Regions from separate parts of the Homo sapiens genome. Here regions 1, 3, 4, 5 and 6 are each linked to region 2. The links are contacts of gene promoters, found by promoter capture Hi-C in blood cells and fetal thymus (Javierre and others, 2016). All regions are on one chromosome and are shown on one strand. The core of a region is centred on a gene start or on the middle of the fragment in contact, and the rest is flanking DNA. Distances in the headings are between cores, read along the strand shown.

What was found. Contacts are between HindIII fragments. The CHiCAGO score rates a contact against its expected background, and 5 or more counts as called.
Region 1: a contact is called between a fragment that was not itself captured here and the fragment with the promoter of TESHL in region 2, in 2 of 17 cell types (naive CD8 T cells and non-activated CD4 T cells). The highest score is 5.8, in naive CD8 T cells.
Region 3: a fragment that was not itself captured here is called in contact with the fragment with the promoter of TESHL in region 2 in 2 of 17 cell types (M2 macrophages and endothelial precursors); the score reaches 5.9 in M2 macrophages.
Region 4: a fragment that was not itself captured here is called in contact with the fragment with the promoter of TESHL in region 2 in 1 of 17 cell types (endothelial precursors); the score reaches 5.8 in endothelial precursors.
Region 5: a contact is called between a fragment that was not itself captured here and the fragment with the promoter of TESHL in region 2, in 2 of 17 cell types (endothelial precursors and megakaryocytes). The highest score is 7.5, in endothelial precursors.
Region 6: a contact is called between a fragment that was not itself captured here and the fragment with the promoter of TESHL in region 2, in 1 of 17 cell types (total CD4 T cells). The highest score is 5.5, in total CD4 T cells.

Annotation. Positions count from the first base shown.
Region 1 is chr2:217,732,768-217,737,036 of GRCh38, reverse strand. The region is part of intron 2 of DIRC3 (disrupted in renal carcinoma 3); the gene reads left to right. Among named protein-coding and RNA genes, the nearest start is that of DIRC3, 56 kb to the left of the region's middle. The HindIII fragment of the contact is 4,058 bases long and covers 1-4,025 here.
Region 2 is chr2:216,867,910-216,872,146 of GRCh38, reverse strand. TESHL (testicular germ cell expressed HSF2 interacting lncRNA) reads right to left here and starts at 1,375. Exons shown (of 2, transcript NR_130782.1): 1 at 1,167-1,375; 2 at 508-691. The HindIII fragment of the contact is 5,034 bases long and covers 1-2,242 here.
Region 3 is chr2:217,513,362-217,517,689 of GRCh38, reverse strand. The region is part of intron 2 of DIRC3 (disrupted in renal carcinoma 3); the gene reads left to right. Among named protein-coding and RNA genes, the nearest start is that of DIRC3-AS1, 230 kb to the right of the region's middle. The HindIII fragment of the contact is 9,357 bases long and covers 1-4,328 here.
Region 4 is chr2:217,582,509-217,586,724 of GRCh38, reverse strand. All of the region lies in intron 2 of DIRC3 (disrupted in renal carcinoma 3), which reads left to right. Among named protein-coding and RNA genes, the nearest start is that of DIRC3, 210 kb to the left of the region's middle. The HindIII fragment of the contact is 1,281 bases long and covers 916-2,196 here.
Region 5 is chr2:217,489,584-217,493,965 of GRCh38, reverse strand. All of the region lies in intron 2 of DIRC3 (disrupted in renal carcinoma 3), which reads left to right. Among named protein-coding and RNA genes, the nearest start is that of DIRC3-AS1, 210 kb to the right of the region's middle. The HindIII fragment of the contact is 1,406 bases long and covers 1,551-2,956 here.
Region 6 is chr2:217,708,351-217,712,986 of GRCh38, reverse strand. The region is part of intron 2 of DIRC3 (disrupted in renal carcinoma 3); the gene reads left to right. Among named protein-coding and RNA genes, the nearest start is that of DIRC3, 80 kb to the left of the region's middle. The HindIII fragment of the contact is 939 bases long and covers 1,608-2,546 here.

The DNA.
Region 1 (4,269 bases), core at 747-3,246, 860 kb before region 2:
AGTTAAACCCTACAAGGATATGAATAACTCTCAAGTTTCATGCCAACTCTTATTACTTTGTAAATTGAGGAAAACACCATGAGTGCTGAGTGACGAAAGTTGTTGCTTTTTAATCCATACCAAGTTACTGGAACCAGAAAAATCCCTTAGTTTGTCATTCTAACACTCCCATCATCATTCTAAAATCTAAGCCTCCCTGCATCTTCCTCCCATACGGATGCAAAATGGAGAGAATACCAAGTTTCATGCTCAACTTTTTTCTTCTGGAAGAATTACTTTCTAGTTTCCTTAACCAGTTAATTCAACCATAATGACTGGGTACCTACCATGTGTCCAGCACCTGGCCGGTACTTAGAATGCAGTGGTGAATAAGACAGGTGTCCTTGCCCTCATGATGTTTACAGAACCATTTTTTAAATAACAGCAGTAAAATCCTTACTTTTCTGACAAACCACACATTTGAATTTAAACACAGAGAGGCTTTCTCTAGTAGCCAGGTTTCACTTTAGCAATATACTGGCATAAAAGGTTCTCAGAGGCTGCTGTCTGAAAGGATAAGTATCCCTGGGACCAAATCCTCTAGGCACTCGAGAAGCCAAGAGTGTCTATGCATCCCAGACAGGGGAGCAGACTTGACCACCAACTCACCCTGTCACTTGGAAAAAGTCATTTTCTGTCTCTGAGATGCAGTTTTCTGACCCGTGCAGCAGGATAGCTGGCCTAGATGATTCCCAAACTCCCCTTCCACCATGACATTTCAATGACAAACATTTTTAAAAATAGAAAATAAACAGTATTTTAAGCACAGGCCCTAAGTGACTTCATTGAGCTCACCTTGAACTGCCCCGCACCAGAAGCAGTTTGGCTCTTCCCTATCAGCCAACTCTGTCTGATCAGAATCTCCTGTTGTTTTTGAACTGGTTTGGAAACTGCAAGCAGGATGAATCCCAGCTGCTCATGCCCTTTGGGACTTCCCAGACCCCTCTGGCTGGAGAATGTAACCCAAGACTCTTGTTCTTGTATCTATGCCAGCCCTTGTCATACCGTAGTGGCCAATCTGTCTCCCACCAGATTAATCCATTTATTGCACCAATATTTATTGAGAGCTCGGTGGTGTCAGGCATTATTCTAGCTACAGTAGGGAATATAACAAAGCCCCTTTCTGCATGCAGCTTACATTCTAAAAGGAAGGGAGAAGAGGGAGAAATAAACCTGCACCCCCCCACCCATAATTTGATGTCATGAATGGTAAGTAGTATTATAAGGACTAGAGAAACAGAGTAAGGGGAACAGCATGAAGCAGAGTGCTGTTTTAGCTTGGATGATCAGGGAGGCCTTTTTGAGGAGCTGACTTTGGACATAGCCCTGAAAGAAACAAGGGCACGAGCCACGCTGCTCTCTGGAGGAAGAGTGGTTTAAGGAGGGAAAACAGCAGGAGCAAAGGCCCTGAGGTGGGAGCATGCTGCCTGGGCTCTAGAACAGCAAGATGGCCAGTGCAGTTGAAACTGGGAGCAGTGAAGGGGAGAATGGCGGGCAGGAGGCTGGAGGTCAGATCATGCCGGGGGAACAATGAGCATGGATTTTGTCTGAGGTGTGATGGGAAGTCTTTGGAGGATTTGAGGAAGGGAATAAATATGATCTGATTTGGGTTTTAAAAGGATCACCTGGTTGCTGTGTATAGAAGACACTGAAGTGAAACAAAGATGGAAAAGCAGGGGACCAGTTAGGACAGGGGACCCCAGTTCCCAAGCCATAGAGGTATCAGTCCATGGCCTATTAGGAACCAGGCCACAGAGCAGGAGGTGAGTGGGGGAGGGGGTGAGCAAACATTACCACCTGAGCACCACATCCTGTCAGATCAGTGGTGTCATTAGATTCTCATAGGAGCACAAACCCTACTGTGAACTGTGCATGTAAGGGACCTAGGTTTGTGCTCCTTATGAGAACCTAATGCCTGATGATGTGAGATGGAACAGTTTCTCCCCCTACCCCCACACCTGGTCCACCATGAAACTGGTCCCTGGTGCCACAAAGATTGGTGATATGGTTTGGCTGTGTCCCCACCCAAATATCATCTTGAATTGTAGTTCCCATAATCCCCATGTGTCACAAGAGGGACCCAGTAGGAGGTAATTGAATCACGGGGGAGGTTTCCCCCATGCTATTTTTGTGATAGTAAGTTGTCTTGAGATCTGATGGTTTTATAAGGGGCTTCCCCCTTTGCTCGGCTCTCATTCTTCTCTCTCCTGCTGCCTTCTGAAGAAAGATGTGTTTGCTTTCTCTTCTGCCATGATTTTAAGTTTCCTGAGGCCTCCTCAGCCCTGCAGAACTGTGAGTCAGTTAAATCTCTTTTCTTTATAAATTACCCAGTCTTGGGTATGTCCTTGTAGCAGCATGAAAAAGGATTAATACAGTTGGGGACCACTGAGTTAGGAGAGGATCATGGAGACTGGTGGGAGATGATGGCTTGGTTGAGGAGAAGGTGAGACGTACTTGGAATCAGGTATACGAATGCAGGCACAGACCATGCATTATTTGCCTGAGATGGGCTCTGGCCCAGAACAGATGCTCAGAAGAAGGGAAGATGAAAGTGGAGAGCTGTGGTCAGGGTTGAGAGAGGGAGAAAAGTGGAGAACACTGATACAGCTCTGGCAAGCCCACCTCTGAGGCTCTGTCTGCATTGCCTATACCTGTTTGTTTGCCCTTGATGTCTACATTCTACAAATACCTTGTTTTGGTTGAATCTTTTGTTGTTCAACCTGGCAGGCTTCTATTCCTGAACCTATTGTTTTGTCCCTATATGACCCCTTCCTGCTAAGAACAGCGCTGTCCTTTTGGGGCCTGCCCCTCCCACCCCATTGCTTTAATGTCTGCATCACCTCGGATTTGCTGGACCTTTCTTTTCTCTTAGGACCTCACTGCTTGCTCATGGAGACTGATCCTCTGTGTCTGCTGCCACAGTCACGCTGCTGCCCATGGGTTCCCTCCTGTGGGATGAGTTTTGAGCTCCAACATCACCTCTACTGCTTCTGCTGTGGCCAACCTGATCCAACCTGATCCTCAGATGCCTCCCCATTCTAGTCTCTGCTGAAGTGCCACACTGCTTTCCTTGCTTCTTTGATGCCTTTGGTAGGGACTGCCCCAAGATGCCAAGCAAGGCTACAGCCCAGCAACATGGGGAGATAGTGCCTCATGTAGAAAACTTTGACCTATGAAAGACAGGAGATGCGAGGGATCCAGCAGACAATTTTTTCTCTTTTCTTCTATGGGATGGAAGATTCTCAGGGGCAGTGATTATGCCTCGGATGTGTGAAGACATCCTCTGTGAATCAGAAACTGGCTGTGTCCCTTTGTGGAGCTGTGGGTAGCTTGGAAATGCATTCCTTGCATTCACCCCTTTCCTTTCTCTCTTGAGAGAGTGAGAAGTCTTTGCCTTGAGATTGTGCCTCCTAATAAGCCTTATCACTTAAGTGGTGACTCTGGCACCGTTTTCTTGGACACTCCCCAACCATGTGACTCTAGTAGGTTTTGTCAACCAGTTCCCTGGTCCCTTGGCCATGGAGGTGGACACTGACCCAAGCTAGACTGATAGAAGCCCTTACCTTTTGTCTTTTAAATTGGATTAGAAGAAAAACAGTTGTTCCCTTCTGGCATTGAGCCCAAAGATGCGAGTCTAAGAGCTGCTCAGGACAATTTCCCAAGGAATGTGGAGGAAGCCTGTCTGGGGGAAGGAAGCTGGCTTGTAGAGAGGAGCAGAGATGAGCAACACAGACAGTTCTGGATCCAATTGCTCTGAGACCCAGCTGCGCCCTGCCCTTCCCACAGTTTCCTTCTGTGAAGAACAAATTCTTTCTCCTTCCTGGCTAGTTTGATTGAATTTCTGTCATTTGCTCTATTAGTCAGGGTTCAGGCAGAAAACAGAAACCACTCTGAGTGTGTTACATAGCAAGAGTTGAACACAAGGAATTGGTTATGCAGAGACGGGAGAGCTGAGAAACCAAATGGGAATTAATGACATGGAAGCTTCCAAGACTCCTCCCTAGGGCTGAGGAATAAGGGGGAGGTGGTTTTACTGGCCACCAGGATGGGGCCACCTGCAGAAGCTAAGACCATGGCTGGCCTGTGTGGTGGGAGCTAGGGCCATGGAGCAAGGCTGACACTCCCTGAGATGCTGCCCAGAGCAGAAAGAGAGTGGCAGAAACAGCGTGGCCTCCCTCTTCCTTCAGCCTTCTGTCATGCCTCCCATTGGTCAAAGCTATCCTGAAGTCA
Region 2 (4,237 bases), core at 126-2,625:
TTATATCTAGAGTATACTACCAGGAGAAGCTCGAGGATGTTGTCCTTTAAAGAATTCCAAATGCACATATGCCTTTGTAAGTGTACGTTGTGTCTTTGCACTTCCTCACATTTACAATTCCTGGACTTCATGATGGATGACCTGGGCTTGTTTCTAGGAAAACAAGCATCTTCATTTCTGCTAACAAATGAATGAGAAGTGTGAGCTGATGGTGATCTGGTGGTTCACCTGGCTCAGCCTGCACTGGCCTTGTTTAGACGGTCTATCAAACCAAATAAGCCCTTATCATATCCAGAAAGCATCTCAATTTATCCCAAACAAAAGCCCAACCATGAACATCATAGTAAATCTTTCAAACAGGAAAAAAAGGGTAAACTACATATTTCCTCCTGACTCACATGGTTCTCCCTCTGCTTACAACACCCATCTGATTACATGAAGGGCTAGGGTACTAAGGTCACTCAACGTCACTCTTCAGCTAAACAGTAACACTCAAAAACACCTTTGTCAGAGAAAGAAGAGAAAGTTTATTTAGAGACACTGGCGTGGAGAGGAATAATCAATGATGATTATGGTGGTCTTGGGCCTGCACCAAAAGCCCTTCTTTGTGCTGGCCCTGGGAGAACACATGGCACAGAAAAGCCCAGATTCAAGCAGCTTCTTCAACCAAAACATTGACATATTCTGCTGACTAAAGAGACAAATAAGAAAATTAAAGATGTACACTCCAAGAACCCACGTGTTTTTCATATAGGGACCTTCCCAACTCAGTTTCCCAGAGATTCCATCAAATACAGACCTTCAAAGAGTTTGAGAGTACCACCTCAAAGAGGTAGGTCCAGGGTTTGTGTGATCTCTCTTTACTGCATGGACAAGATTAGAGGGAGGCTCTACAGCACAAAGAAGACAAGCCATGAGCACAGAAAGCCTGGCTCTTCACAGGACTTGTGGGGAAGCAGGGAGAGAGTTGGGTGGTTGTTTTTTATTGGTGGGTGGGTGTCGGTGAGGGAAGGGATTGTTAGAGAAGTACTGGGGCCAGTCTTTAGAAGGTGAGAGGTGATCTTTGCTTTTGCCAGAGGCATGACAGTTTGGGAGATTGGCCAAGCATGGGTGACAATTCCTCAGTCCTGAGAGTCTCCTCTGTAATCAGAAAATGTCATCAATACCTTGTCCTCCCATTCCTTTTCAGAGATAATTTCCTTTCTTTTTGCCTCTGTGGGGAATATTTCAGATGACATGCTGAACACCTATACCTGCAGGCCTTCACCATCTTCTTCTGTTCCTCAACTCTGGTCAGCATGAGGTTTTGGTTGAAACAGCAAGATCTGCCTGCTCCTACTGTTGTCCCTCTCTCCTACCGCAGGTCCATTTGTCCAAAGCAGTCCACCCATCATTCCCTTTATATAGTGGCTTATGACACGGGCCCTCCTGGTAAAGGGACATGATGATTGATGGTGCCTTGTCACAATGGCTGAAAGTCAACATGAGAGCTTGGTTGAGTGGTTGGGGCAGTACTGAAATGTTGGATAAAATTAAGAAAATGCCTAGTAGGACTCCTTAAATCAGCTGGCTGCCTATCAGCCAGCCCATAGGAACCCCCAAGAATTACAGAAACCAAGCAAAATTCTCTATGCCTTTCAAACCCAAGTCTAGCTTTTTTTTTTTTTTAAAGAATAACCATTTATTAAAGTAGATACAGAACACTTGTTTGGCCAAATTTTAATACTGCTTTACATGTTTTGTTTGTGAAACAATTCGTATTACATTTATAACCAAAAATTTCAACTGGTAACATATTTAATATTCACTGTCAAACACACAGTTGATAATCTTGAGGGGAAAATACATGAAAGGCATATATACAATTATAGAAGCTCTTATTGTACATGTAGCATATTTTGATCTCCAAGTCTAGCATTTTTAAAGCCTTTGTCTGCTGACACATTTAGGCATACATTCCTGGTTTCATTGCCTTACTTCTAGAAAGAGATCTTGAGGGAGGATTTGAACAATGTACACTTTTTAAGTGAATTTATTGAAGTATAATTGATAAACAATAACCTGCACATATTTTAAGTGTACAATTTGATAAGTTTTGACCTAGGTATACACCCATAAACCATTACTACAAATCAAGATAAAAAGTACAATTAAAGCTCTAGTCCAGTTCATTTTTTAAATCTACTACCCCTGCCCTATCCCCTAGAGCCCCACAGAAATATAGCTTCAACTTCAAGAAGCTTGATATCTGGCCAGAGAAGCCATCTTCTACTGGTAGATATAAAATGTGACCAAATGAAGAAGTAACCATAGAGTATAGGGCCTTTGTTTTGAGTCTTGAAGCACATTTGGAAGTTTAATAGGTGAAGATGAAAAAAATAGTACAAATCACTGAATTTCCTATGAAGACCTGTACTTTTTCTACTTTTTAAATAACCCAGTTTGGTTAGAACAGAGGTTGCCTGAAGGAAATAATGAAGGACATGGCTAAAAAGCCAGGTTGGGGTTGGGGATGGGGATATGGAAATTGAAATGCTGTAGTCAAAATGTCTACATCTTGTTTCACTGGGCAGCAGTTTGCATGAAAAAAGAGACTCCAGCCACCTCCACAGTGATGTAGTCCAAAGGCTGATGAAGGGCTGCCACCTGGCATCATGGAAACATGGGCCTCATAAAGGGGGAAGAGCCCAACAACACACCTGGGCTTCAGGCCTAAGTAATGAAGCTCTGGGTGGTGCCAACCAGAAGGGTCAGGTTGGCAGGAAGGTCCCAAGAAATGTCGTCTCCTCTCTTCCTTAAAAGCCTGGTTTCAAACACACTTCCTGAACAAGGGCTGTAGTGATTCACCCACTTCAAGAAGGCCAACTTCATGTTGAGGCCATAGTGGGTGGAGGGGTGGAGGTGATCATCCAAGCATCCCCCAGTGTCCCTCTAATATCCCACCTCTTGCAGATGCCCAAGAGGCAGAGAATGCTACAGTTCTCTTGTCATTCTTTTAACATAAGACCTAAGGTTTTAATCCTGGGTAGGGCAACAAAGGCAGGAAAGAAGAGAAAGAAAGAGAAGGAGGTGGAGTTGTATTCAAACTACATATGTGATGCTGAGCTTAATGTATTCTAACTCTTCTCTGATTGTCAGGTGCTCTGCAGGAGTCACCTAAGGTAAGGACAGAGAAATGAGATGAGGTTCCCTCAAGCGGTCACACAGTGCCTGGCGCTTAGTAGGTCCCCTAAAAGTGCTCTGACCACCTCAAGTGTCGCAGCTTCCAGTTTTGCATGCCTTACTTTCAACCCCATTCTTTCCTGAGTTTTCTTCTGTTCTCTCGGTCTCCTTGCCCTGCTCTCTCCTCTGAAACACCCAATGGCTGATAAATCCCATAACTTTGTCTCTAGAGCATCTTACCTGCCCCTGGAGATTCAACCACACAAAACTCTACCTTGCCAGTGCCCAAAACTACATCCCCAGCCTCAATTGCTCTTCTGAGCTACAGATGCCTCTATCCAATTTGTCTACAGGGCATCCTTGGGGACCTCTCTGGTAGACATTCAACCTATGCAAAACTAAAACCAGTTTTTTTCTGTTCACATCTATTTCCTGCTCCTGCATCTACTCAGCAGTCATTCACTATTCACTTAGGACAGAAGACTAGGATTAAAACTTTACCCCTCCACATAAATCACGTCAGTATTTTATAACTTATCCCTTCTTCAACTCCATTGCTGGCTTGGGTTAAATGGCTTAATATCACTAAAGAACTTACCATATTGCAGGCACTTTCCTGCAATAGATAACAAGTTAGAATTCAAGTCTTTTGTTGATAGCTGTCTTTATGGTGAACATTAAGTCAAAGATATCACCCTCTGGGTAACTGACCGTCTTCCTCTGCATCCCTTCTGTGGCAGCAGTTAGAGCATACGCACTAAAATTAAGTAGATGTGGATCTAAATCCCAGCTCTACTGTTTAGTATTTGCACATCCTTGAGCTATTTCCTGAAGCTCTGAGCCAGTAAGGAGGTGATCTCCAACTAGGTGTTTAGTCTCCTCATTGGTAAGATAACAGGATTGCCATTAAGCCTGAGTCCTCTCTTTAACTTATTGAAGATTTTTAAGGCTGGGAGCAATATAATGATTTGCCCACATTTGGTAAGTTGAGAAACTTGGATCCAGAAAATCAGTCTGACTAAATATTGGAGAAAATCATCTCAGGTCCCCTGCTCAGCCCTTCTCTTGTAGATTG
Region 3 (4,328 bases), core at 143-2,642, 650 kb before region 2:
CAAGAACATACGTTTCTGCAATGACACCCTAATCTGGCGCCCCATGAGGGGCAGGCTAGGAGACTGAGGCCACACTGCCCTTGACATCTCACTCTCACCAGTTGCCCATTTGGAAATAGTTCCTGACACTTTCCAGGAAGTATAAATGAGTCATGAGCCCTTGAACACAGAGATTTAAGAAGCCACCTGAACCCTCAGAACAGCCAGCGTTTGCTGAGTAGTTTTAAAAAAGCACTGGGTCTTACATTTAAGTCTTTAACCCATTTTGAGTTGATTTTTGTATGTGGTGAGAGATAGGGGTCTCGTTTCATTCTTCTACATGTAGATATTCAGTTTTACTAGAATAAAAGAGATGATTCTTTCCCCAATGTTTGTTCTTGGTGCCTTTGTCAAAAATCAGTTGGCTGTAAATGCCTGGATATATTTCTGGGTTCTGTATTCTATTCCATTGGTCTTTGTATCTGTTTTTATGCCAGTACCATGCTGGTTTGGTTTCTATAGTTTTTTAGTAGATATTGAAGTCAAGTGGTGTGATGCCTCCAGCTTTATTCTTTTTGCTTAAGGTTACATTGGCTATCCAGGGTCTTTTGTGGTTCCACACTAATCTTAGGATTTTTTTTTCTATTTCTATGAAGAAATCATTGGTATTTTGATAGGGAGTGAATTGAATTTGTAGCTCGCTTTGAGTAGTACAGACATTTTAACCCTATTAATTTTTCCAATGCATGAACACAGGATATCTTTCTATTTATTTGTGTCCTTTTTTTCTTTTTCTTTTTTTTTTTTTTTGGAGATGGAGCCTCGCTCTGTCGCCCAGGCTGGAGTGCAGTGGCGCAATCTCAGCTCACTGCAAGCTCCACCTCCCGGGTTCATGCCATTCTCCTGCCTCAGCCTCCTGAGTAGCTGGGACTGCAGGTGCCTGCCATCACGCCTGGCTAATTTTTTTGTATTTTTAGTAGATACAGGTTTTCACTGTGTTAGCCAGGATGATCTTGATCTCCTGACCTCATGATCCGCCCGCCTCGGCCTCCCAAAGTGCTGGGATTACAGGCGTGAGCCACCGTGCCTGGCCGTGTCCTTTTTTTTCATCAATATTTTATAGTTTCATTGTAGAGGTCTTTCACTTCCTGGGTTAAATTTATTCCTACTCTTTTTTTTGGTAGCTGTTGCAAATAAGATTGTTTTCTTAATTTTTTTTTTGGATAGTTTGCTGTTGGGGTTTAGAAACACTGTTGATTTTTGTGTGTTGACTTTGTATCCTGAAACTTTGATAAGTCTTTGAGGTGACAGATATGCTAATTACTCTGATTTTATCATTACACAATGTATACATGTATCAAAACATACTGTACCCCATAAATATATATGACTATTATATGTCAATTAAAAACAAAATAAAACTTTAAAAAATTTTGAAAACATAAAAGGAGGCTTGGTGTCAGGATGCCACCAGATATTCCTGTGGGGAGACTTTCTACATCCCTCCTTGCAGAGGCCAAAAGCTGAGCTGACCTCATATGCTCCCATATGAAAGCTGAATTGCTCTTGTCAATTTCATGCCTGGAATATGCAGGCCTCAGGAACTGCTGTCTTGTGTAAGGGGAGGAATTGTGAGTCAAAGTGCCAGGGATCCATCTAGCTGGTGCCAGAAAGATCCCCCAGCAGAGATGGCAGGCCTTATTTCTCCTTGGATCACGGAGGAGAAATTGGGTTGAAATGGCTCAAGTTTGAGAGGATGGTCTCCCAAAGTCCCACTAGAAGCAGACTGAGGTCATGGACGATGTTAAGACTTGTACAAGAGGCGGTCCTACCTCCTGTCCCCTGAGACAGGAGAGCCTGCCAGCCAAGGGGGTTAGACTTGATTGTTTACACACAGGGACCCTGAGTCTGGCCTAAGGCTCCCTGGAATTTACTCTTAGGCGGTCTCTTGATTTATAAGTCTAAATCACATTAAGTACCATTGTGAATCACCAGTGCCTGTCCCTGGCAAGGTTTTGAAGATAAGAGCTCCAAAATGGGAGGCTTCTCTGAGCCCAGGGAAGAACAGAACTGTTTTCTAAGTCTACGAAAAAGCATTAAACTGCTTTTTGGGCATCTCTGGGAGGTGTGGAGGAGAAGAGGGGATTTTCCAAGGTTTCTTCTTGCTATGATCTGACTTGAGGCACGAAGAAAGAGGAAAGATAAAAAAGGGTAAAGCCTATTGCAGTTTGGAGGTTCCCTATCAGGAATAGTTACTACTCCCTGTGGAAGGTCTTTGTTGTACTGGACACTCTTGAAACAAATGTGACCTTAATCTTTCCAGAAGTATTGAGTCTTTGGCTGGAAAGAATGTCCACCTGGGTTCTCTAGTTCAGTCTCCTGACTAAACTGCAATACTGTTAAGAAACTTCTCCTCAAGAGCCATTGGGTTTCAAGGGTCTTTAGACTTTGCAGGCGGGTATCTCATAACCTCAGATTAAGTCAGAGAGCCAAAGGAACTTGGAGATCAGTCAGCCCAATGTGGTCATTCTGAAGTTAGAAACCCTGAGGACTGGAGAAGTGATGTGACTTGCCTAAAACTACACATCAATTAGTGTCAGGGTCGGGACCATGATCCAGAAGTCTTTCCTCCTAGTCCCGAGCCATTTCAGAGACTCCTGTCATTCTCTCTAGTTCTACCAAACCTGTGTTTGCTGGGGATGTTTAATTGCTTTTGCAGTTTTCACTTTTTTTCCCTCTTCTAAACAGCTATCTTTATCCATGAGGGTGATAATGAGCCATGGGGAACAGTAATATCTATATTTTCCCCTTTTCCTTTAATAACATTTACTGAATTATTCATTATTAATGGTTAGTAATTCATTGTTGAATTATTAACATGTATTGAATTATATTTATTAATTTATTCACTCAACAGTAATCACTGAATATTTATTGAGCATCTTTTATGTGCTAGGGATGGTGCTAAAAGCTCAATGTCTATTACCACATTTCATCCTCAAAGTCACTCTAAGGTGTAGCTACTCTTTGTATCTCTAATTTACAGACAAGGACACTTGGAGAAGTGCTCTAACTGCCCAGGTTGCACCCAAGTTAAACCTGGATTTGAGTCTTATTTCTGCCATTTCTTTGCCTGGTACTTGATTTGATGATTATGTTGTACTAGCTCTCCTACTTGAGTTAAAATTAGCTCTAAGGTCATAAATGGGCTTAAGGACTTCTCTAAGATGATCATTTGCAGACTGGATACAATGTTTTGCAATGGCTATATTATCTCTCTTTCTGCAAGGACCTTCCTGCTGTTCTAATCCTCACATGGAAACTACCATGCCCATCTTCAACTGAGCCAGTTAGTATTTCTTTAGGGCAGGATAACATTTTGGGCCACAAGAAGTTATCAGAAACAGTTCACTCCAAGGTTACATAGAGCACATTAAGCATATTACTTCCAAAGGTGGACTATTTTTGTTATTTTTATCTATTAATTAATATCTATTAATCTATTAGTCTATAATTCAAAGCACTTTAAAAGCTATAAATCTTGATGCATCAAACATGACCAGGCTTGTGGTATATGATAACCATTCTGGATCCCAAATGTGGAGACATTAGAAAAGTGAAGCCAAGGCTGAGCATGGTGGCTCACGCCTGTAATCTCAGCACTTTGGGAGGCCGAGGCAGGCAGATCACGAGGTCATGAGTTCGGAACCAGCCTGGCCAACCTGGTGAAACCCTGTCTCTACTAAAAAAATACAAAAATTAGCCAGGCGTGGTGGTGTGCGCCTGTAATCCCCAGCTACTCAGGAGGCTGAGACAGGAGAATTGCTTGAACCTGAGAGGCGGAGGTTGCAGTGAGCTGAGATCGTGCCACTGTACTCCAGCCTGGGCGACAAAGCAAGACTCCGTCTCAAAAAAAAAAAAAAAAAGAAAAAGAAAAGTGAAGCCAAAAAAGTGATTCAAGGATACAGGAAATTTTACATTTCAGGTGTTCCCTGACATGGCCCCAGCCTACTCTCTGATGACAATATATCCTGCCACCTCACGATATGCATTCTTCATTACAGCCCAGCACACTCACTGTTTCTTAGAACATTGCACTTTGGAGTCTTTCTACCTCTATGCCTGCTCTGGGGCTCTGTATAATACCACCTTCTCAGTGGAACTGGATCTCTCCAGTTGGAATTAATTTCTTCTTTCACTGAGTTCCTCCCTGCATTTCTTATCACACTTGATACATTCCACTTGGTAAAGTAGCTATTTATCTATGTGACTTAGCTTAGCTGGGCTTAGATAGGGGATGCCAGTGAAGGAGTCTAAGCAGGAGAATAAAGGGTCAGGTTCGTGTCTGA
Region 4 (4,216 bases), core at 307-2,806, 710 kb before region 2:
TCTACAAGGAGCTGAGTATGACAGGATAGCAAGCTCCAAGAAGGCAAGGAACTTACCTTAGAGGGTTCAAAGAGAGACTCTAATGAAGGCACCACCTCAGAAAGTGAGGGCAGGGTGTCAGTGGAACAAAGAAGGAGTGTTGAGACACTCAGAGAGGGGCAGCAGGACGCTGTCACCTTTCCCAGGGCTGAGGGGGCAAGGACTCTGGGAAAGGGCCATGGGCATCCTGTGAGAGCTGAGTCAGGAAAGAGGGACTTCTTGGTGAGAACTGCAGCAAGGGAGGGGTGCCACCATTGCTAGAACCAGGCCGGGGAGCACAGCCGGCTCTTTCTCTTCTCCTACCAGTGCCTTTCAGCTGGCTGAACCCAACCATAGCCCAGCTAGAAATGCCATCCTTAAAGACCGGAGCACAGGGCTGGGCAGAAGGGCAGAGAATGAATCTGGGAGATGGGATGAGAGTGATCAGGGATTGCCTAGCACTGAGAACAAGAGGAAGAATGGCTACTTGGTATAAAGAGAAATAACCAGTAACTTTTAGTTTAGAGGCATTGATTCAGACTGCCAAGCCAGATCACGAAGCTGAAAGTCAATCCTCTTAGGTGTTTCTGTGAACAATCTGGGCAGGTAGCCTCTGCAGAGAAGGCTGAGTGGTCTGGTCTGTGAAGGTGAGGTGACTATTTGTATGGTCAACAGAACCAGGCTCCTGTCCCTCCTGTGCTTCCCATCTGGCTATGGAAACTGAGTTGCAGCATTGGGTTCCGTCCATCTTCCCCCAGTTCTCATTTTCCCACTTAAGAATTACGCATAGTTTTCTCATATGCCTAAGTTGCTTTCCTACAAGGCTCTTTGAGAAGAATGTAGTTCAGTTCAGTTCCAAGAGATAGCTTGGGATTTATTCTTAAATTTAGACAAGCTTGATCGTGAGGACGGGAGCTCTTAAAAAATGAGATTTTAGAGACAATGGGCAGTTCTACTCCAAGGCAGAAGCATGGAAGAGCTGCCTTGCAGAAGTCCTCACCCACCCAGAGAGTTGGTGACTCCCTGAGCAGTCTAATTCCCAGCCCAGATTTTGCCTGACATTTCCTCCAAATATAGCATCTCCCCAAAAGGTAGTGCTGCAGATGAAGGAGAGGCTTCCTTGGCAGCTGTCTCAGGTTCTCTGGAGAGACACTCTGGCAGGTCTCCAGGGATCCTGTGACTCCGGAGCTCATCCTGGGAGAGCCAGCTCAGCTTGCCGATCTCACAGCCCAACTCCCTCCAGGTCTGGTGCCCAATGGGCTGGAATGGTCATGGAGGGAAGGGAGTCTCTGTGGTTCGTGAGGTTTGCACTGTTTGGTTGCAGGGGAATGAGTAAAGTGATGTCAGGAATGAGAAAAAGGAAAAAGATGGGATGGCGCACTCTTCAAGACTTCTCCATCCTCAAGAAGGAAAGCAAACAGGTGGCCTCCTTGTGAGGGAAACTAGATCATGGTGCTCATAGATAGCTAATTGAGAATTTTGGGGTTCTGTGTAGGCAGTTTGGCTGTCAACATAGTAATACCCATGGAAACGGCTAACCCTCTTTTACCTTTTAAACATTTATAAAATTGAAAAATAAAATTGGTTTAACCCTTTCAGTGTTAGTTCCATTTGGAAAATCTCTTTGTAATAATCCCATGGGAATGGTTTAGAATATTCTGAAACAAATTATCTGCTGGGGTTTGGTGAGTTGAGCTGGTGGTGTGTGTCAAGAGCGGGTAGAAAGATCCCCTCTTTATTCTTGCAACTTTCTACAAGAGAGGAAGGATGTATATGGGGGTGAGAAACTGATGGCAGGTCTGTAAAAAAATCCCACATTCAGCCATGGGTTTCTTAAATGATGGTTTAGGTTTCTCAAAATAAATTTTAGAACCACCAAATGAAGACAGTGAGTTCTGAGTCCATTTATTTATTCCTGAACAAGAAATTTCTATGTCACTTTATCCAGTACCAGCTTTGCAATCTTCAGTGGAAACCTCTAAATTTCAGATGCCTTATCTGTAAAGTAGACCTAATAGTATTACCACACTGGGTGGTTATGAGGAATAAATGAGAAATGGCAACATAGGGTCCTTAATAAGTGTTTATAAAACAATAAGATGTGGGAATTGGGTCCTGTGCCAGAATCTCTCTGGGGAGATGGGCATGGGAAAATGTAAGGGAGGAAATAAGCAAGCTTTTTGGAACAAGCTCACACTCCTAATTTTTTTTCTTTCAAAACAGTGAATTAGAGGTCAAGGCTAAAGTGAAAGGGGATAGAAATAACTAGAAAGATGGATGAAAGATCTGCTACAGAAAACCAGGCACCACATTCATTGCAGCAAGGGAGGAAGAGTGACAATCAAGTTAGCTGTGGCTTTTACACCTCCAAAAACACTGTGACCAAGAGGATTTTTATTTCAAATGAACCATTTTGCTTAAAGACTTTTCTTTCATGAACAATTGTGGAGAAGTTGCCCAGATTTTCCCAAATGTGATATGATAATAAGGGGTATATACCAATACCCACAGTAAATCCTGTGTTAGGAAACTGCTAGTAAGAAACAAGAGAGGCAGCTCATAAGAGTCTCAATGGAGTTTTCTATTTTTAAATTTTTTTGGACTAAAGTTTTACTACTTAAAATTTTTTACTTTAAAATTTTCCAAACATATGTTGAAGTAGAAAGAATAGTTCAGGCAGGGTGCAGTGGCTCACACCTGTAATCCCAACATTTTGGGATGCCAAGGTGGGAAGATCACAAGGTCAGGAGTTTGAGACCAGCCTGGCCAACATGGTGAAACACCATCTCTACTAAAAATACAAAAATTAGCTGGGCGTGGTGGCAGGCACCTGTAATCCCAGCTACTCGGGAGGCTGAGGCAGGAGAATCGTTTGAACCCTGGAGGCGAAGGTAGCAGTAAGCCAAGATCATGCCATTGCACTCCAGCCTGGGCAACAGGGTGAGATTCCATCTCAAGAAAAAAGAAAAAAAAGAAAGAATAGTTCAATGAGCTTTCATATACCTAGTTTCCATAGTTACCAATTCATAGCCACTGTTGTATCTTGTATGTCACTTCTTCTCCCTCCCCATATTAACTGAATCAACCTCAGACATCATATCATTTCAGCCATAAATATTTCATATGTAACTAAAAACATTTAAGGACTCCTCAGAAAGCCCTCAATACTATTATTATATAAAAACTAAAATTAAGTTCTTCATATCGTCAAATATTCAGTGTTCAGATCTTCAATTGTCTCATGAATACATTTTCTTTATTTTAATCAGAGCCCAATTAAGTTTACACGTTGAAATTGATTGTGCATAGAGCTTTTATCCCTAACTTTAAAATGTGAAACAATTATATGCTCATAAAAACTTGCAATAATAGCACAGAGAGGTCCTGTGAACCCTTCACCCTTCTTCGTCTAATGGTGACATCATATGTGATCAAAACCAAGAAATTGATATTGACATAATATAATTAATTAGACTACAGAACTTATTCCAATTTTACCAGTTTTTACATGCACTCATTTTTCTTGTATGTCTTTGTGTATAATTCTATGATGTTCTATCCTCTTATAGCTCATATAACCACTGTCCCAGACAAGATACAGGACTACTGTCACCTCGAAGGAATTCTCTCATGCTAGTCACACCCTTCACTATCACATCCTCCCTTCTGTTCCATAACTCCTGGAAACCACTGATCTGTTATGCATCTCTACAATTTTGTTTTTTGAAAATGTTGTATAAGTGGAATCATAAAATATATAGCCTTTAATTTCTCTGTATTTTAGTTGATTTTTAAATTTTTTTTTCATGTGAACAAAATTATATAAATAACCATCTTAGAAAATAAAATGTCTACCTACCAACTTTAAACAAATGGACATTCACTCAACACATTTATTGGGGAACCATGATGTGCTTGTAACTCAGCAGTAGACAAAAATGAATTGTTTCCTTGCAACAGTGGCTGTGTCATGTGTGTTGTTTGGTAAGGTTTTCAGAGCAGTGTCTACAGGTTAGAAAACCATTAATTCTTTCAGGAAGGGGATTTTAGGTTTGGCCTGGGCTTTAGTTTTTGCTCCTTTCTCTTCCCCTGTCTGGGATCCCTAACTCCACCCACAGGATTAGCCTGTCTTAGTTCATTCAGGCCCCTCCAATAAAATACCATAAACTGGGTGGCTTATAAACAATAGAATTTTATT
Region 5 (4,382 bases), core at 1,004-3,503, 620 kb before region 2:
TCAGGAGGCTGCTTTGGACATCTGGGGGTAAAGAAATGGAAGAAAGGAGGAATGGGAGAAATGGGCAAAATAGGCTATGAAACTAAAGGAAAGATGGAATCTTAAGGAACCTTTGCAACATGGAATCAACCTAAATGCCCATTAATGATAAACTGGATGAAGAAATTGTGGTACATATATTAATACACCATGGAATACTATGCAGCCATAGAAAAGAACCAGATCATGTCCTTTGCAGGGACATGGATGGAGCTGGAAGCCATTATCCTTAGCAAATTAATGCAGCAACAGAAAACCAAATACCACATGTTCTCACTTATAAGTGAGAACTAAATGATAAGAAGAACACATAGACAGAGGAACAACACATATTGGGATCTATCAAACTCCCATCTTGCTCCCCTGACTAAAGTCACTGATAATAGTTCCTCATTGTGGTTTCTGAGATCTAAAGAAAAGACAGCCCCAAGTAGTTTATTATACAAGGTTCAGAAGGCTTATGGGCATCCAATGGTTCCCACCTTGTCGGATTGAGGGTGAATGGAGGGTGGGAGGAGGGAGAGGATCAGGAAAAATAACTAATGGGTACTAGGTTTTATACTGGGGTGATGAAATAATCTGTACAACAAACCCCTATGACATAAGTTTACCTATGTAATAAACCTGTACATATACCCCCGAACCTAAAATAAAAGTTAAAAACAAAAACAAACAAACAACAACAACAAAAAAAGAAAACTTTTCTGAGTCTACATGTCCTGTGGAAACCAGATGGGAACAAATGGTTCTACCAATCTAATTTGTTTGGGCTAATTTGGGTGAGGAAAAGTAAGGACGGGAATTTATTGTTCCTTTTTCAGGTGGATTGACAGGCTAAGTATGGTGTATCCCAAGCAACAAACTGATTACATCTGAATCTACTGTGGTCATTCTTGCCCACTCCCTGTGGTGTTGGCAGAGTTTAGCTATGAAGAATATGGGACTAAAGGAGGGAGAAGATGCTTTCAAGTTGATGCTGGCAACTGGGCAAATTGAGGTGTCATTGCAGGAGATGGAGAAAGGGGGTGAGATTATGATAGACAAAGAGGATGTCTTGAAGAATACTATCAACTCCACAGATTTATTTTGGAGTTGTATAAATATTGGTACTAGTTTTAAAAATTGTTGTAATTTAAGTCATATAAATAGATGAAGTAGCCTAAATCTATATTTTGCTTTTTAAGAATAGTACAACTCTCTTGCTATAATTAGGGTAGTGTAGATAAAATCTCAGAAAATTACATTTTTATGGCTACCTTTATCTCTATGTTTCTGCCTCCCTTGGAATGTTACTCCCTTCTGTTTCTTGTGATTTCCTTTAACTTCCATCTATTCACTGAAACATGAAGTATGCTTCTTTAAAAAATTTTAATAAAAAAGTATGCTTCTTTTAAAATTTAATGACAAAACATTTATACGAGGCCTGCTTCTCCCTCAGATTTTCATAAAATCTTCTACATATAGAGGGTATTTGAGGATATCTCTTTGCTGTTAATATTAAGGTCTAAGCTTTACTTTGTAGGCCAAAGGCTCAGCCATAGCTTTAAGACGACTACTTAAATAAGACCTGATTAAGTTCCTTAATGAGAAGCTGTTTTCTTCCCATGTCTCTCTCCAAATAGGGGAAAAGGGGGTGGGATTGCCACTGTTCTAGTCACAGAAATTAATGCAGATGGATATGTATTAAACTCAAGTGATGCTGTGGCTAAGGGGTGAGGAAAGAACAAGAACTGAAGAAGTCAGAGGACATTAGTGAAAAGAGAGGATAATTGGAAAAGACGAATGGTGGAGGTTAGGATGGCATAACTTTCAAGAAGGAGGTGAGCACCAGGGCATCAGGTACTGTGACGAATAGCATGAGAGAAATAGAATCCCAGAGGTCTTTGGTAGACATACCAGTGTCCGCACAGCTCATTCCACATGTTGCTTTCCAATGAATAGGTGTCCATCTGGGAGAGGCCAAAGCTGGAGTGTGATAGGTGAGTGTCCGTAAAACTCAGAGGTGAAAAGTGATTGCTACCATCACCTCCATTCTGAATGATAAAATAGGCAATAAATTTGTTAGGCTGGGAAATGATGCCAAACTGAAAGGCTGGAAAAAGGAAAAGGTAACAGGAATAGATGACTCAATTATAAAAATGTTTGGGATTAAAAAAAAATAAGGCAAGGGCTTGGTGGTCCATTGGGATAGAAAATCAAACTAAGTTCCTCAAACATCCCAAATATTCCTCGTCTGATCAAAGTGCAATGACAAAGCATTCATTAAGCCCCAAAAATGTACCAGAAGCTGTATTAGGTGCTGTCAAATATGATAATTTAACTCATGATTGAAACAAGTCTATAAGAAAGGTTTTATGATTTTTCTGTTTGACAGTTGAGGAAGTTGAGCGTCTGAAACTTGTGACTTCCCCAAGATAACACAGGCTATGAATGTCAGAGCTGGAGCTGGAATGTGGAGTGTATGAGTCCAAACCCTGTTTCTCAACCACATGACACTTCTACTCTTTTGTGTAAAGGACATTTCTGTCGTGCTACTAAAGAATAATGAGCTTTTCAGGAAGAGAGAAAATCAGAGGACTGGACATATGAAAATTCCTACAGTGGCTTAGGGCTGCTTATTTTTCTCAAGACCATTATTTCTGAGTTTTATTATTGGTTTTCATACCGTTTAACTGTATAACCATAGACAAATCATGTAGCAATTGAGGTCTCTGTTTTTTGGTCTATAAAATGAAAGGATTGAACTGGCCCTTGAGCCCTTGACACTCTGACATATCTGCAAGGGTCTCTAGAGTTGCTCTGATCTGCCACCTTTGAGTCTGTGGTGTTTTAGAGGGAAGAAACCAGAAGACAAAGGACGGACAGGAGCCCAGACTTGTCCCTGGGACAACTGGGCAGTGAGTGAGTTAGTGAAGCTTTATTCCTCATTTCCTCTTTGACTCTTCAAGTCCCTATTGTGCATCCATACCCAGGGGTCCTTGTCAGTTACCCCTCAGTTCATTCCCCCAAAAGTTTGTCCACATGAGTTTAAAATGTTACCTTTTCCCTGGAGCATTTACTCTTTAACAGTTGACTTTAATGAGTAGAGATTAAAAAATTTTTTTTAAAAAGTGAATGGATTTTTTAAATGCCAGTTCCACTACCGTGTTTAACAATGGAATTGGAACTTCAGAAGAAGATGGAGTCATTGGAAAAAGACCAGATCTTAGTCTGAACTGGAGGCAGATGAGGAAGCCCCGGAGCCTGCTGGGAGCACCTGCTAAAGGGCTACTGGTTGGAATACAGCTTTACCATGCTATCAGCTGTGGCTCATGACTACTCTGCCTTGTGTATTCCTCATCTGCTGGGGCTTCCACACCTAGCAGGTCATTGGAAATGAAAGGGGTAGATGGGGTAGATGGGATAGATGTGCAGTCAGTCCAATTAGCTCCAGATCCTGGTTGTGCTACTTACTATTTGTGTAATCTTTTCGAGTTACTTTGCAACTCTCAGCCTTAGTTTTCTCATCTGTCAAATGGGAGTGAGTCAGATGATTTTATAAAGCACTCAGCATCATGTTTGCCATGTGCAAAGCATATAGGGGAGTGGTTAAAAGCAGAGTCTGGGGCCAGAAAACCTCCTCATTTATTAGTAAGTTGCTTAAACTCCCTGTGCCTCAGTTTCCTCACCTGAAAATATGGCGAGTAAAGACACTAACCCATGAAGTTGTCAAGATTAAATGTGTTAAAATGTGTAAAGTGGTTAGTTAGAACAGTGCCTGCAAATGGTAAATGGTGTAAAAGTGTTTGCTGTCATTGCTATTATGACCATGGAGTTTGCCTCTGCTACCCATCTTGGGGTAGGAAAACAGTCAGTTAGTTTTTTTTTAAATCATGATTAGCTTACAGTCAACCTGTTAAAGGAACAGTCCATTTTGTTTGTTCAATTTGTATCACACGAAGATAAACAATGGGTCTCCCCATCTTCACATGCTAGGGAAAGGAGAGGAGAAAGGCTTGGAACTCTTTCCCCGTATGAGATTGCAAGTGAGTCACAGTCTCTAACAGTCCACCACCCTCTCCTCCTTGTACACGAGCCACAGAGCAGGAGTCCCAGCGGTTCCCACCACCCTCTGAGGTTGCTCTTTGCCTCGTCACAGCTCCCAAGTTGATTTAAATTACAGCTCTGCAGCAGGCACGCAGCTTTGAGGGCATCCCTAAGTTGTCCGCTGAGTGGTGGTGGGAGGTCTGAGCTGGGGGAATACGGATACAATCTGCAAGTCAGCCGCTCTGAGGCATCAACAACTCTCAGAGAGGCCTGCGGTCTGAGGCACAGAGACCCCCGGGGAGCCAAACGGCCAAATA
Region 6 (4,636 bases), core at 828-3,327, 840 kb before region 2:
GAAGTTATTGGATCAGATGATCTCGAAGGTAGCTTGGAACCTTGACCTTTCCTGGTTCCATGTTTGGGCTGTGTCCCCAGTTACAAGTTATTTGGTCGAATTGAAGAATAGAACCTTGCAGGGTGGTGGGTGACAGATGCAAACTCCAGCTGTGAATCTGACCAGACTCTGTGCATTGAGCTGGTTGTTTTCATGTGGAGGGTGCAACCTTGTTCCCCAGGACTTGAGAGAGTCAGGTCAAACCACATGAGGACATTCTGCTTGCTGACAAATGGCATAGACGGTGGTGTCAGTGGATGTGAGTGACAGTCGTCAACTGTGCCCCACAGAGCTCCACACTGAGAGGCCGGTTGTCGGATGCTGGGGGGACAGTGCACTCTTCCAGGGCTGTGCTTCCTGCTCCATCTCCCTAGCAGCCCTTTGTATCCCCGGCAGTTGGGAGTCGGCACGAGCTCTGTTTCTGTGCTGGTTGCCTCAGCAGGTCTGCTGTTTTCCAGGAGGAGTGCATAGGAAAAAGAAAGAGCCAAACCCTTCAAGGCACACCCAGGGTCACAATTACAAGATATACTTTGGATGTGTGGGATGGGGAGGAGTGGAAGGACAGAGCAACATAGACAGAGCCTGAAAGTCAGAATTCCTTTTTGACATCATCAACCACCATTCATTGAGCACTGAGCATGTGCTAGGTACTATGTACCCACAACTGGGTACAACTCTTAATAATCTCATTTTACAGATGATGACATTGAGGCCCAGAGAAACTGTGTAACTAGTCCAAGATGGCACAGCTCAACAGAGGTAGAGTAGTGATGGCTAAGTGCACACCCTTAATTCCTCCTCTAGGCTCTATCCATCTCCCTGACTGAATTATCATCTTTATTATCTCACAAGAAATTAGGCATACCGCCTTAAAAGTAAGACTATGCTCATGAGTAAACTGAGGAAGAACATCTGCCATCTGTACTGTTCCCAGAAATCTGGGAGATGATCTGTTTTTCTTTCTATCTATCTATCTATCTATCTATCTATCTATCTATCTATCTATCTATCTATCTGCCATCTCTGAGTCTTCTCCAGGTATCCCACCAAGTAGGAAGTTGGCTATGATTTCCACATCCATACTCTTACATGTTCTTCTACGAAGTTCTGCAGAGTAGCAAGGGCTGGTGGTGTATTCCTGAGATGAGAAAGTAGAGACCCGGCAAAGGCTAGTGATTTACTCAAGGCCCCAGAGCTGGTTGGTGACTGGCCTAGAACAAGAACCCAGGTTTCCTGACTCCTGGTCATAGTGTCCTATTCACCATGAAAAGACTTCTGGGAAAAGAGATCTGACTTGGCCAGGGAGACCTGGGGATGCTGGCTTCCCAGCCATAGTGATCCTTGCCTGCAGGTGCTTTGAGTTCCTGGGGTTTCTGTGCTAATCTGTGCCCGGAGGCCCAGCCCTGCCAGGATCAGCCGAGGATTTGAGTCCTAATGCAGGTTCGGATGGGAGATTTTGTGGGATTCATCCTACATTTAAGGCCTGGTGTGGGTAGCCAGGGGCTTTCCCATAGAAACCACAGCTATGTACTGTGTCAGGGCTAACAGTCCAGGGGGAGTGCAAAGCTTTGTGCTGCAAACCAGATCTGCTCACCAAGCCATTGCTGCAGCCCTGCTGTCCTGGGGCAGCTGGAGACAGGGAGAGCCCATGGCAGGGAGCCTCTGGTGAAGGCTTAATGGCATTTGCATGGGGTTTCATACCACACAGGCATGGAGTGGCTTAGATTTCTGAGAAACCGTTCCACCCTGTCTGGATGGCTTAAGGGAAGCCTTTGCTGGAGGAAGGGACCTTGACACATGATTTTTAGAGAATTTTTTCTACTTAGGTTATTGCTTCCTCCCCCTAGTTTTGCTTTTCTGCTTAAAAAACTGGCATGGTTAAATGCCTGTAACGTAAAACTTCAACTCTTTACCTTGACAATAAGTTTACCTTCTTAGCTCATCTTTGCTACTCTCTTCCTCTGGCCCTGTCCTTTCTCTTGTTTCTATTTTCCTAACCCTATTGAACAATTGTGTAATCTTGTGTAAATCCCTTGTGTTACAGCCTGTAGTTGTTAGACAGAGCATAGATTTTCAACAGATCTGAGTTTGAATCTCAGCAGGCAGTCTCCAGCCTGATGTGTGAACTTGGCCAAGTCACTCAATCTTTCTGAACCTTGATTTATTGTTCTATAAAATGGGAGTAATGACATCTAACTCTCCTAGGTGTTATGGAGGTCTAAGGGGGACCTGTAAGTTCTTAGAAAAGTAGAGAGTCTCTGAATTTGTTGGAATGAGGAAGTTGAGTGAGGAAGAGTGAATCTATTGAATATGGAGAAGAGATTCTGAGCTTGACTTTAGTCACCAAGTAATTGAGTTCCTGTAATGTGATGTGTGAATCTGTGGATTAGGAGATGTGGCTTTGGGACATCTGTGGTCCATGCCTGTCCTGGAGTGTGAGTTTGAATGCATGGTGATGATGGCAGTTGGTGTAAATGTGTGGGATAAAAGGAGCTATCTGACAAGCTTCCCCAGAAGAAGGGATCTGGTGTGACTCAAGCACCTTAGGCAGCAGGAAGCTGGAGGGTGAGTGTGTGATGTGAGATGGCCTGAGAAAGGCCTGCTAGGCTGGAGAATGGATTGCATGGCATTTATCTTTGTGGGAGTAGAGATGGTGTTTCATGGTCTTTTAAATGAAATTTGAGAAGGTGGGGGATGCCGGGAGATGGAGTGCTTTGAAGCTCCACCAGTAGAAGGTCTCATTTAGGCTGAAAGAGGCTTTGGCTAAAGACAGAAAATTCAACATAGTATGGGGAGAGCAGGTTAGTGGGGAGGTATGTGAGATGACACCACTGTGGCACAGCCAGAACTTGAATCAGTGTCCAAAGGAATTTCCTCTACCAGAGTAGTTCTTCCAGTTTTTGCTTGTAAGAGCTCACCCACCTCGGAGAACATCTCAAATGGCATATTCGTTTAAGTTTTTCATTGCTTTGATGGTTCAGACAGCAGCCCTCAAGCCAACATTCCAGACTCTACTCAGCCTTAACAAACATTTAGTACTAGATGGTCTGTGTCTCCATGTCACACCCCTCTGATTCCTGCTGCCCAGGCAGATGGGCCACTGGAAGCAATGGAGAGGCCACTGTGGATGTGAGCACCACAGGGTTGTCAGAACACCATGGGTACAGCAGGGTGGAGGGAGGCTTCTGGCAAAGCCCAGCCAGGAACAAGTTTTCTTGTCCTCAGCAACATCTGGTGGCCATGACCTTCCCATAGCCTCCTGGTGGAAAGCTGCCATGGAAAGGAGGAGACCAAATGATCGGTGTCTTGCATTTGCATCCTGTGTCTCTACATGATCTTCATGATTTCTAAGCAACTTGCCTGAAGCCATATGGGCCTGGGATGGGTTTTTCCAGGAAGATGCAGAGTGGGTGTTATTTATTTAGATTTAATTTGCCTAATGGGGATTGATTTCTTAACATCTCTCAGAAGTCCTGTAAGCATTGGAGTCTGTTATCCTATGAAGGAAGGCACATGTAACACTTCTCTTATGCCCAGAACCCCAAAGGGAATTTAGGTATTGTCACCCAATTACTGTTTTCTTTCTTATCTGGTAAAGCAGGAAGAAATCTGGCCACCGCTGGGCTCTTGTTGGAGCCTCTGCTCTAACTGCAATAGAAGTGAGTAGTGTTACTGCAAACTCTACCAGGTGGTAATAGTGTAAAGGGCATGAATTAGATGACATGGATTCATGCTGTGGCTTTGCCATAGTGGTCTCAGCTCCAGCTCATCCATCTGTAGAGCGGGAAAAATAATAAAATCTACTTCAAACGTTTGCTGTGATAATTAAAAGAGATTACGCATGTAAATATAAAAGAAAGGAAACCAACAGCATGTGAGGAACACTTCAAAAGAGTCATCAGTTCTTTCACCTGGGCCCTAACAAGTCTCTAGTATTTGGGGCTGGGAGTTCTAGTTATGTTGTTAACAGTTGCTCATCAGTGGAAAGGCTTGAGGTCCTACACCAGGTGAGGGCTAAGCTCAGTTTCATACCTCTGAGAATCTCCAAAATTTTTCTTGGGTGGTCTTCTGCAGACCAAGCAAATCCAATTCTGCTCAAATGTATGCCATCTGTGTGTTATATATACACGTCACCTGACATCACCTGAATTGGAAGCCTCCAACTTAAAAATGGTGTGCAGGTCCTTGCACTATTTGGGATAGCACTGAAAGAGTTCTTGGTCCAACAGCATGGGAAATTGACCCAAAGTCGGTTTCTAATGCCTCCTTTTTCCCTGGGGTGGGGGCATGATGATATTTGTAGACAGTTACTTCTAATTCTTGTTTACTTACCTCAGTGGACTCTACCTTATCTCCTTCCCACTCTTCCTACTTTTTTTCCATTAACTGACAATGATTAAGTTTGACCTTATCTCACACATGCAATCAAAAGAAAAAGAATTCTCGTGATATTTTTATCAAAGCAAATAAAAACAATTATCAAGTAAACTTGGATACAGCTAAGAAATACAGAAAAGAATGACAGCACCCATAATAGTGAGTGCAGCAGAGAAAAGGCATTCATGGTTTGGGGAAGTGCAATTTGATCCGACCCTAC